Linked DNA regions of Homo sapiens: region 2 is linked to region 1. The links are contacts of gene promoters, found by promoter capture Hi-C in human tissues and cell types (Jung and others, 2019). All regions are on one chromosome and are shown on one strand. Each heading gives the region's core, a stretch centred on a gene start or on the middle of the fragment in contact. The rest is flanking DNA. Distances are from core to core; before and after follow the strand shown. Region 1 holds the start of CYP26C1 (cytochrome P450 family 26 subfamily C member 1). Region 2 overlaps MYOF (myoferlin).

The links. Contacts are between HindIII fragments. The study calls those that stand out against the background at their distance.
Region 2: a contact is called between a fragment that was not itself captured here and the fragment with the promoter of CYP26C1 in region 1, in 2 of the 25 tissues and cell types used here (mesendoderm cells and thymus).

The regions. Positions count from the first base shown.
Region 1 is chr10:93,058,694-93,062,627 of GRCh38, reverse strand. CYP26C1 (cytochrome P450 family 26 subfamily C member 1) reads right to left here and starts at 1,830. Exons shown (of 6, transcript NM_183374.3): 1 at 1,161-1,830; 2 at 394-618. The coding sequence starts at 1,364. EXOC6 (exocyst complex component 6) reads right to left here. Exons shown (of 22, transcript NM_019053.6): 22 at 3,138-3,934. RefSeq lists an enhancer at 903-1,812. The HindIII fragment of the contact is 7,111 bases long and covers 1-3,934 here.
Region 2 is chr10:93,438,012-93,441,945 of GRCh38, reverse strand. All of the region lies in intron 3 of MYOF (myoferlin), which reads left to right. Among named protein-coding and RNA genes, the nearest start is that of MYOF, 42 kb to the left of the region's middle. RefSeq lists an enhancer at 3,843-3,934. The HindIII fragment of the contact is 8,673 bases long and covers 1-3,934 here.

The DNA.
Region 1 (3,934 bases), core at 581-3,080:
TCCCTCTTCCAAGCGGCCCAGACCTAAACTTCCTGGCTTTTGCTTTCGCCATTTCCCCCAGTTCTGCTCTGATGCACACAGTCCCTCCCAACCATCCAGGCTCCAGCTGCCATCTCCTCTAAGAAGTCTTCCCTGGCCCCTTTCTAGGTCTGAGTCTCCAGCGCTTCTGCTATCACAGCCACGGAAGATGGGAGATGAAAGAATCTTTTAGCGCAGTCCTAACTTTATAAACCGAAGCTGAAGGTAACGGACCCGCCCAAGGCCACCCGCTAGTTACCAGGGACCTTGGTCGGGTTCACAGTGTATCCAACACCGGGGCCCCGGCCTGGCCCATGGCAGATGCCGGGGACCGCGGATCCGACGTATCTACGGTCCATTCCCGTTTCCACTCACCTTGCGCCGCCGCCGGTGCGGCTCGCCGACCGCACCTAGCAGTGTGTGCGAGCCCAGCAGGATGTGCGCACTCTGCGGCCACTGGCTGCGCACCAGGCGGTGCTCGCCCAGCAGGATGGTGCGCACGTTCTCCGCGCCGCTCACGCGGATCACTGGCCTGCCCAGCAGGTGCGTCTTGAACACTGTCCCATAGCGCTCTCGGCGAGAACTGTGGAAGCGCGAGCCCTGCGGGCGAGGCGGAGGGTGGAGAGCTGGAACTTCTGGGCCTGGGCTGGGATCTGACCCAGACCTTCCAGCTGCCTTTTGATCACAACTTCCTGTCCCTGGCTGGCGCGTTTACAAAACAAGATCCCCAGTGGGCCTGGTATCTACTCTACGGGAATGTACATGCTCCTGTTCCTATTGGTGAGATGAGGAAACAGACTCAGAGTGAAGAAGTGAGGGCCCAAGGGCTCACAGCTGGGCCAAGCTCCAGGCTCCTTTTCTACCCTTGCAGGACGTGCTCCTCAGACCCCTTCCTAAAACCCCTTATGTTTACCCCCTGCGTTGTGTCTGGGAGTTGCTCTGGGGGGAATTCCAGTGACTTGAGGTCCCTTCGAGGGAACGGAGTATCTAGGTAAAGGCGAGAGTTGTGCGCGCTTCCCGGGGTCGTGGGCGATGGGCAGGGACTGGCTACAAATCCCATGGGCATTGAGACTGAGGAGGGTCCAGTGGGAGCCGGGGGAAGAAGGGACCGTATTAGCGCTCGGGGTCGAAGGACTGCTCACCTGAACTAACCAGTGCAGCGTTTCGCCGAAGAAGGGCCACCCCATGGAGCCCTTGGGCAGAGGCAGGGTGGAGGCCCGGTCCCGGCTCAGCATCCAGCGGAGGGTCCAGAGGTGCTGGGCCAGGCTGAGCAGCAGGCCCGCGCACAGGAGAGCAGTGCCCGCCGCCCCCAGCACTGACAGGCAGCTCAGCCCCCAAGGGAACATGATGAGCCCGCGGGGGCCAGGCCGCTCAGAGCGCAGGGAGAGCAGGGGACGCAAGAACCGGGGCGCGAGCAGTGCGCAGTGCTCACCTGTTCCGTCCGCAAAAGGCCTGGGGTTTGGGGGCAAAGCCCGAGATTTATAAGCTCAGGCCAGAACTCTGTTCTAAAAACAGACGGACGGTGAAAGACTGCAGTGACCGTGCGCCCTTAGGGAACGTGCCTTCCTCGAGGCCGGCACGCTCAGGACTTTTTCCTGGCTCCTGGGCCCAAATGCCAGTCCCTCTCGAAGGTGCCTGCTGCCTCGGGAACGCTCACTCCCGGCTCCGCGGGGCACCTCCCACCTCCTCCCGGGCTCAGCACCCTTTGGATAGAAGAAGGGAAGGAGGGCGAAAGAAGAGCAACTCACCAGTGTTGCCAACCTGGTCTGCAGACCCCCGCCCCACCTGTCCCTCCTCCAGTCGTTTAACCCTTCTTGGCCCACGCTGGACACGTTTATATAGATATTGGCTCCCCCCCTACGGACCGATCCCGGTTCACACAACGTGACGTGTCTTTGCATATTTAAAGCGCTCCACGCAGAGTGGTGATTGGAGGCGGTGGGCAGCGGCGCGCTCACGGAGGGGCTCTGAGTAGGGAGTGGCAGGCGCCGGGGCGGCTCGAGCTGGGCTGGGGGCTCGCCCCGCGAGCGTCCTCGGGCGGGGCCTGCGGGTTCGCGCCAGAGCTTCCCCGCTCTTCGCAGGCGCTCAGAAAGTGGGCGAACCCAACGCGCAGAACTGACCCGGGCTTGCGCCCCGCAGTGCTCCTGGCCCACCCCCGGCCGCTGGCTCCCTCTGCCGTCCCCGCCCTCGAGCTTCTAGGTGCCTTTCTCTCGCCACTCCAAGGTGAAAGAACTGGGCTTTTCTCTCCTTTGCTCCGACTATTTCAGGGAAACTGCAGTCGTCGACGCCTGCGTTGGCATCGCAAAAGCCCAGGAGGGATAGCGCAGCCGAGATTCTCCGACAGCTCCCCACCTCTCCCGGCTCTCTGATCTACCACGTCAGGTATCCTTCCAAAGATGGCAGTTCCACTACTGCCCTAGGCTTCATAAAGACGTCCTAAGCCTCCAGAAGCGGATACCCACGAGCACCTTTCCGGTCTCAAGGACCGAATTCATCCTTCCCTGCACATCCTTCCCTCCCTCCCCCGAGTTTGCCCGACGACTCTTGTCAATCTACATTGTTGCGTTTTGGGCTTTGTGCGTCCCATTCAAGGGTTCCAAATGCCTCAGGACTCACTCGTTCTTGTCCCTACAGTGCAACCTGGGGTGTGTGTGGAGGGGTGCAGGGTGTTTATATTATTGGTAAGAGTAAAGAGGTCCCACAGTGGTCTCCTCCAGGCAGTGCAAAGGCAGTATCTCTCTGAATCCCGGGACGTCTCAGCCAAAGCAGGGAAGACACCCCAAGTACGCTGGAAGGCTGGGTAAGGCGCGAAGGGCAGCCCCATTCCAGTCTTCAAAGAGAGCTAGCTGTTCACCGCTCCTCTCCTCCAGATTTCACCGTGCCTGAAGAACTACCATGCTTTTCATGTAATATTTTTAAAAACATTAAATACTTTGGATTAAGAGATGATCGAGAGAACAAGTGCGCATATGTATATATATGTGTGTGTGTGTGTGTGTGTATGTATATATACTGTTTTGGTGCCACTCCCATTCCAGTAACTAGGAAATAATATGCCTTTTCTCCAGGAAGCACTTGTTTTAAATCAGTAAGCTCTGAATAGACAAAATAGTAATGCATTTTCAACAACTTGCTCAATATTTTTAATATTTCATCACAAAATCCAGAGATGTACATATAATTCTTTACACTTATTTTACAGAATCAGGCATAGTTTCTTACAGGCCTAAATCCTGAAAAGGCAAAGGGAAGATTCAGCATAAATACAACAAAGGGAGAATAAAGACTGGATTTATATTGCCATTTGGACCACGGAAACATACACAAAGGAAAATGTACATTTGTTTTAGGTTTTCCAGAGTTCATTTGGTTTGGCTTGTTTCCACAATGAGGATAAAGTACTGAAATCTGCTATTTGAAGAAAGTAACCTGACCCCTGTGGTAACTTCTGTGTGCAGGAACCATCTACCCTCGCACAAGCTGCACCTGAAGTGGTTAGCCCCATTTAGTTCCTGTCCTCTCTTTTAACTGGAACCAAACCAAACCAAACAAATCCAGAATGGGGTCACCTACAAGCAATATAGTTAGAAATATTAACCCTGATGAACAGAAACAACACTGCATCTTTAGAAAATCCAAAACCTTTTGTTCATATTCAGAACGATTAAATTAAACCACCCAAGTAGAACAAATAATTCACATTCTTACTGAGTTAAATCAAGTTTGATTTCAGGCAGCTTTTAAGATTTGTCTATTTCCCCTTCAGAATTAGCAGAATTAGAAATTTTGGTCTGCTTAAATCACATTGAGGTGAAAATAAAAGCTAAAAGTCAGAAAATGGTAGTGAAATACTACCATATCAGACATGATTGAATTCCAAAGCCATATACTGATCAAAAAACAGATTATCATTCAA
Region 2 (3,934 bases), core at 422-2,921, 380 kb before region 1:
AATATAGAATTAAAGGAAAAGGATATAGAATTAAATAAAAAAAGGAAAAGACCTAGCTTACGTTGTGAAATGTACTAACTCTCGGCCGGGCACGGTGACTCACGCCTGTAATTCTAGCACTTTGGGAGGCCGAGGCAGGTGGATCACGAGGTCAGGAGTTCGAGACCAGCCTGGCCAACATGGGCAAACCCCCGTCTCTACTAAAAATACAAATATTAGCTGCGTGTGGTGGCAAGCGCCTGTAATCCCAGCTACTCGGGAGGCTGAGGTAGGAGAATCGCTTGAATGCAGAAGGCAGAGGTTGCAGTGAGCCGAGACCGTGCCATTGCACTCCGGCCTGGGTGACAGAGTGAGACTCTGTCTCAAAAAAAAAAAAAAAAAAAAGATACAAAAATTAGCCAGGCATGGTGGCGGGCACCTGTAATCCCAGCTACTCCAGAGACTGAGGCAGGAGAATCGCTTGAATTCAAGAGGTGGAGCTTGCAATGAGCTGAGATTGCACCACTGCACTCCAGCCTGGGCAACGGCGTGAGACTCCGTCTCCAAAAAAAAAAAGAAATGTACTAACTCCCTAGCTTGTTTTAAATTAGAAAAAACAAAAGACTGCGTTTGGAATAAAATTAATTTGGTAGGGCAAAGTGTGGTATTGCTTATAAGACGTTTTTCATTCCCTAGTATATGAAATACCTTGTCTTTAAGCTTTTATTACTTTTATTTCTCCTAGTTATAAAGCTCATTTCTGACCTTGCCCCATGTAAATGTGACAGTGGGAGAAGGTGGTCTTTCTTCTCCTGGGGTTGGTTGGTGAGGAAGGATAGGATAGCCCATGGATTGAAACAGGTTCTTCTCACTGGAGTAGCTTCTCAGGCTGTACAAAAATCTAAACTAGAAGCAGATGTTACTGTGGGGCAGAACTCTCAGTTCTGATTTCTTTTTAGTTCTGTATTAGAGCAATGACACTGAAATGATCTGAGCTGGTTTGGGCTGGCTGTCTCTATACGGGGAGAGGCTGAACTGCACTTTTTGGAAGGCAGATTAAGTAGCTGCTGCAATCCTGTTGGTATCTGTTAAGATCTTGTGATTAAATAAGATTGGGCCACAGCCCTGGAGAAAGATACCCAGAGAGGCTGAAAGAGAAAGGCATCTCATAAAGGCAAGAGCTGTAATTATCTTCTGATGGCTCTTTGGCGGGTGATCTCTTAGGACAGGAAGATTTACAACCTGTAAATAATTTGCAAGGTCATTGGACTATCTTCAATGATGTATCAGCTAATTTATTCATGCCACAAATATTTACTAATGCCTACTATGTGTCAGACACAGCTCTAGACACTGGGGGTACTCCATACCTTTTATGGAGCTAACATCTGAGTAGAGGGAACAGATAAATACACATATGACATAACAGATGGTGATAAGTGATACGAAGAAAATAAAGGAAGGTAAAGGAGAGAAAACAGCAGGGTGAGGTCTGAGTGGGTGCTGGTTTAGATAGGGTTGTTGTATAAGGGTTTGTTTTGGGGGTTTTTTTTTTCGAGACGGAGTCTTGCTCTGTCGACAGGCTGGAGTGCAGTGGCACAATCCCGGCTCACTGCAACCTCTGCCTCCCGGGTTCAAGTGATTCTTCTGCCCCAGCCTCCCGAGTAGCTAGGACTACAGGCGCCCGCCACCACGCCCGACTAATTTTTTTATTTTTAGTAGAAATGGGGTTTCACCATATTGGCCAGGATGGTCTTGATCTCTTGACCTCGTGATCCACCTGCCTCGGCCTCACAAAGTGCTGGGATTACAGGCATGAGCCACTGCACCCAGCCTGGGGAATCTTTTATAATGGGTTATGAAGTTTACAGACTTCATTCAGATTCCACTAAATTGGATTTTATGAGAATTCAGCTGCAGCTGACATTTACCTCTGGTCTAACTCTGAAAAGAAAAATTGTTTCCCAAAAGGATTTGTGGTATATGTAGTATTAAGGGTGGGGAAGGGCTATTTAATGTAGGTAAGATAAAGAACTGGTTTTAAGAACTTTACATAGTGATTACATAGAAATGGATGTGGGTAGTTACAAAGGGTTCTTATCTATTCATTCATGCCCACCTGCCCAGCCCCCTGCTGATTCAGACCAGCTTTCACTGCCAAGTACTAGCCAGGAGCCCTGTCTTCATATGCTTTTTATACATCTCTTTTTCTAGCATAGTGTCTGAAATAATAATACAAGGTGACTGTTAAGCACTTGCCATATCATCCTTTTAATCCCTGCAACAATACCATTAAGTAGGAGCTGTCATTATCCCCATTTTATAGATGAGGAAACTGAAGCTCGGAGAAGTTAACCTGTACGCAGCCTGAGTCTGAATTAGTCAGGCCTGCCTGCCTCCACGTTCCTAGTCATCAGGCAAAGCTGTCCCTCCTTATCTTACAAGGTTCAAGTTCATGAAAGAGTGAATAAATGGATGGATGAAAAAACTACTACTTTGATTCTAACGGTTGAGGGAATTAACTGGAGACAGAGCATCGGAACTCCACTGAACCATCAGAGCAGGCAGGCAGGCAGGCAGGCACAGAATTGGTCAGGTGAAAATAACAAAATAGCAGGTGACCATTTCTTCAAGAAATAATATTCAGCATCTCCTCCATGCCAGAGGAGTTAGCCTGCTCCTCGCAGCCACAGACTCTGGCCTCAATGCCTCACTGACCCGGAGGGCTTTGGTGAGGAGACCTGGGCTTCCACTCAGCCCTTTGCAGGTGTTACCTGCAAAGGTAACAGTGATACCATAGTGGCCAGAGTTGCAGAGGTGGGAGGGGCTGGGAAAAAGAGCACAGTAGATGCTGGCCACGAAAATCGTGCAAATCCTGCCACAGCCTTCAGGCTATGTCAGTGATTCCAAAACCAGGGCGTGGAGTGAGCTAAAAGTAGAGGCGAGACTTGTGCCAGCCAGGTTTGGGAATCACGGTTGAGGATCAGTGTTTCTACCTTTTAAAAAGCCACACCCCCTTTCGATGAGCAGGAAAAGAGCCGCAAGGTTCTCTGGCAGTCCTGGCCTGGAGTCAGGAGCGGAAGTTCCTGGGGGGAGCGCAGGTCACTAGGCCTTCCTAGGAGGTTTTCATGGAGTTTGCCTGCTACAGTTTGTTCTATTAAATAATTGGACTTCGATGCGTGGTTCTCAAACGTGAGCCTGGATTCCCATGCTGAATGTTTTCAAAACCACTCAAGCCCCCCTCTCCCCAGATCCCGCGTTGCCTTCTGCCTTCCCTATCCCTAGCCCTCTACCTCCTCCACTTTACTCCCACAGCCATTGGGAGTCACTGTCTAGACCATTGTTTCTCGGACTTCCTGGGTATTAAGAATTACCGAAAGGAAAAAGTCGGACTCAGGGATCTGGGAATCTGCAGACGCCCTGGTGAGGGACGTCTGGGGAAGCACATTCTGAGAAATGTTTTGGGAGACGATGCGGAGGCCGAGTGAGGGTGGGCGGGCAAGTGCAAGTGGAGGGGTGAACCGAGGCGCAGCCCTTTGCGGGGATTTTACCTTAGCAATAGTTTCCTGTGATACGAGCTGCTGCCATGGGCGTGTTGAGAAAGAATTATTCAGTGACACCTGGTACAGTATGGGCAGGAAGGCTTCATTCAGGACTGAGTTAGCTCAAGTGACCCCTGCAACGGAGACTCGTGGGAAGGAAGAGAGATGGGGTGCCACTCAGATACAGCATGGGCAAGTAGGAATTGATAGCCAAGGAGGAGTGTGGGGGGTCAGTGGATGGAAAATTCCTAAGAGGAAATGTCACAGTCAGGGGGATTCTGGCTAACCCAACCTAACAGGATTCTTGCTGAGGACATCACGTGGGGGATGGCAGAGAATGAGAAACCCGATCAGATATGGAGGGTGATCAGATCTCACGGATGGGGGTTGTTTGCTAAACTGACCGAGTAGGA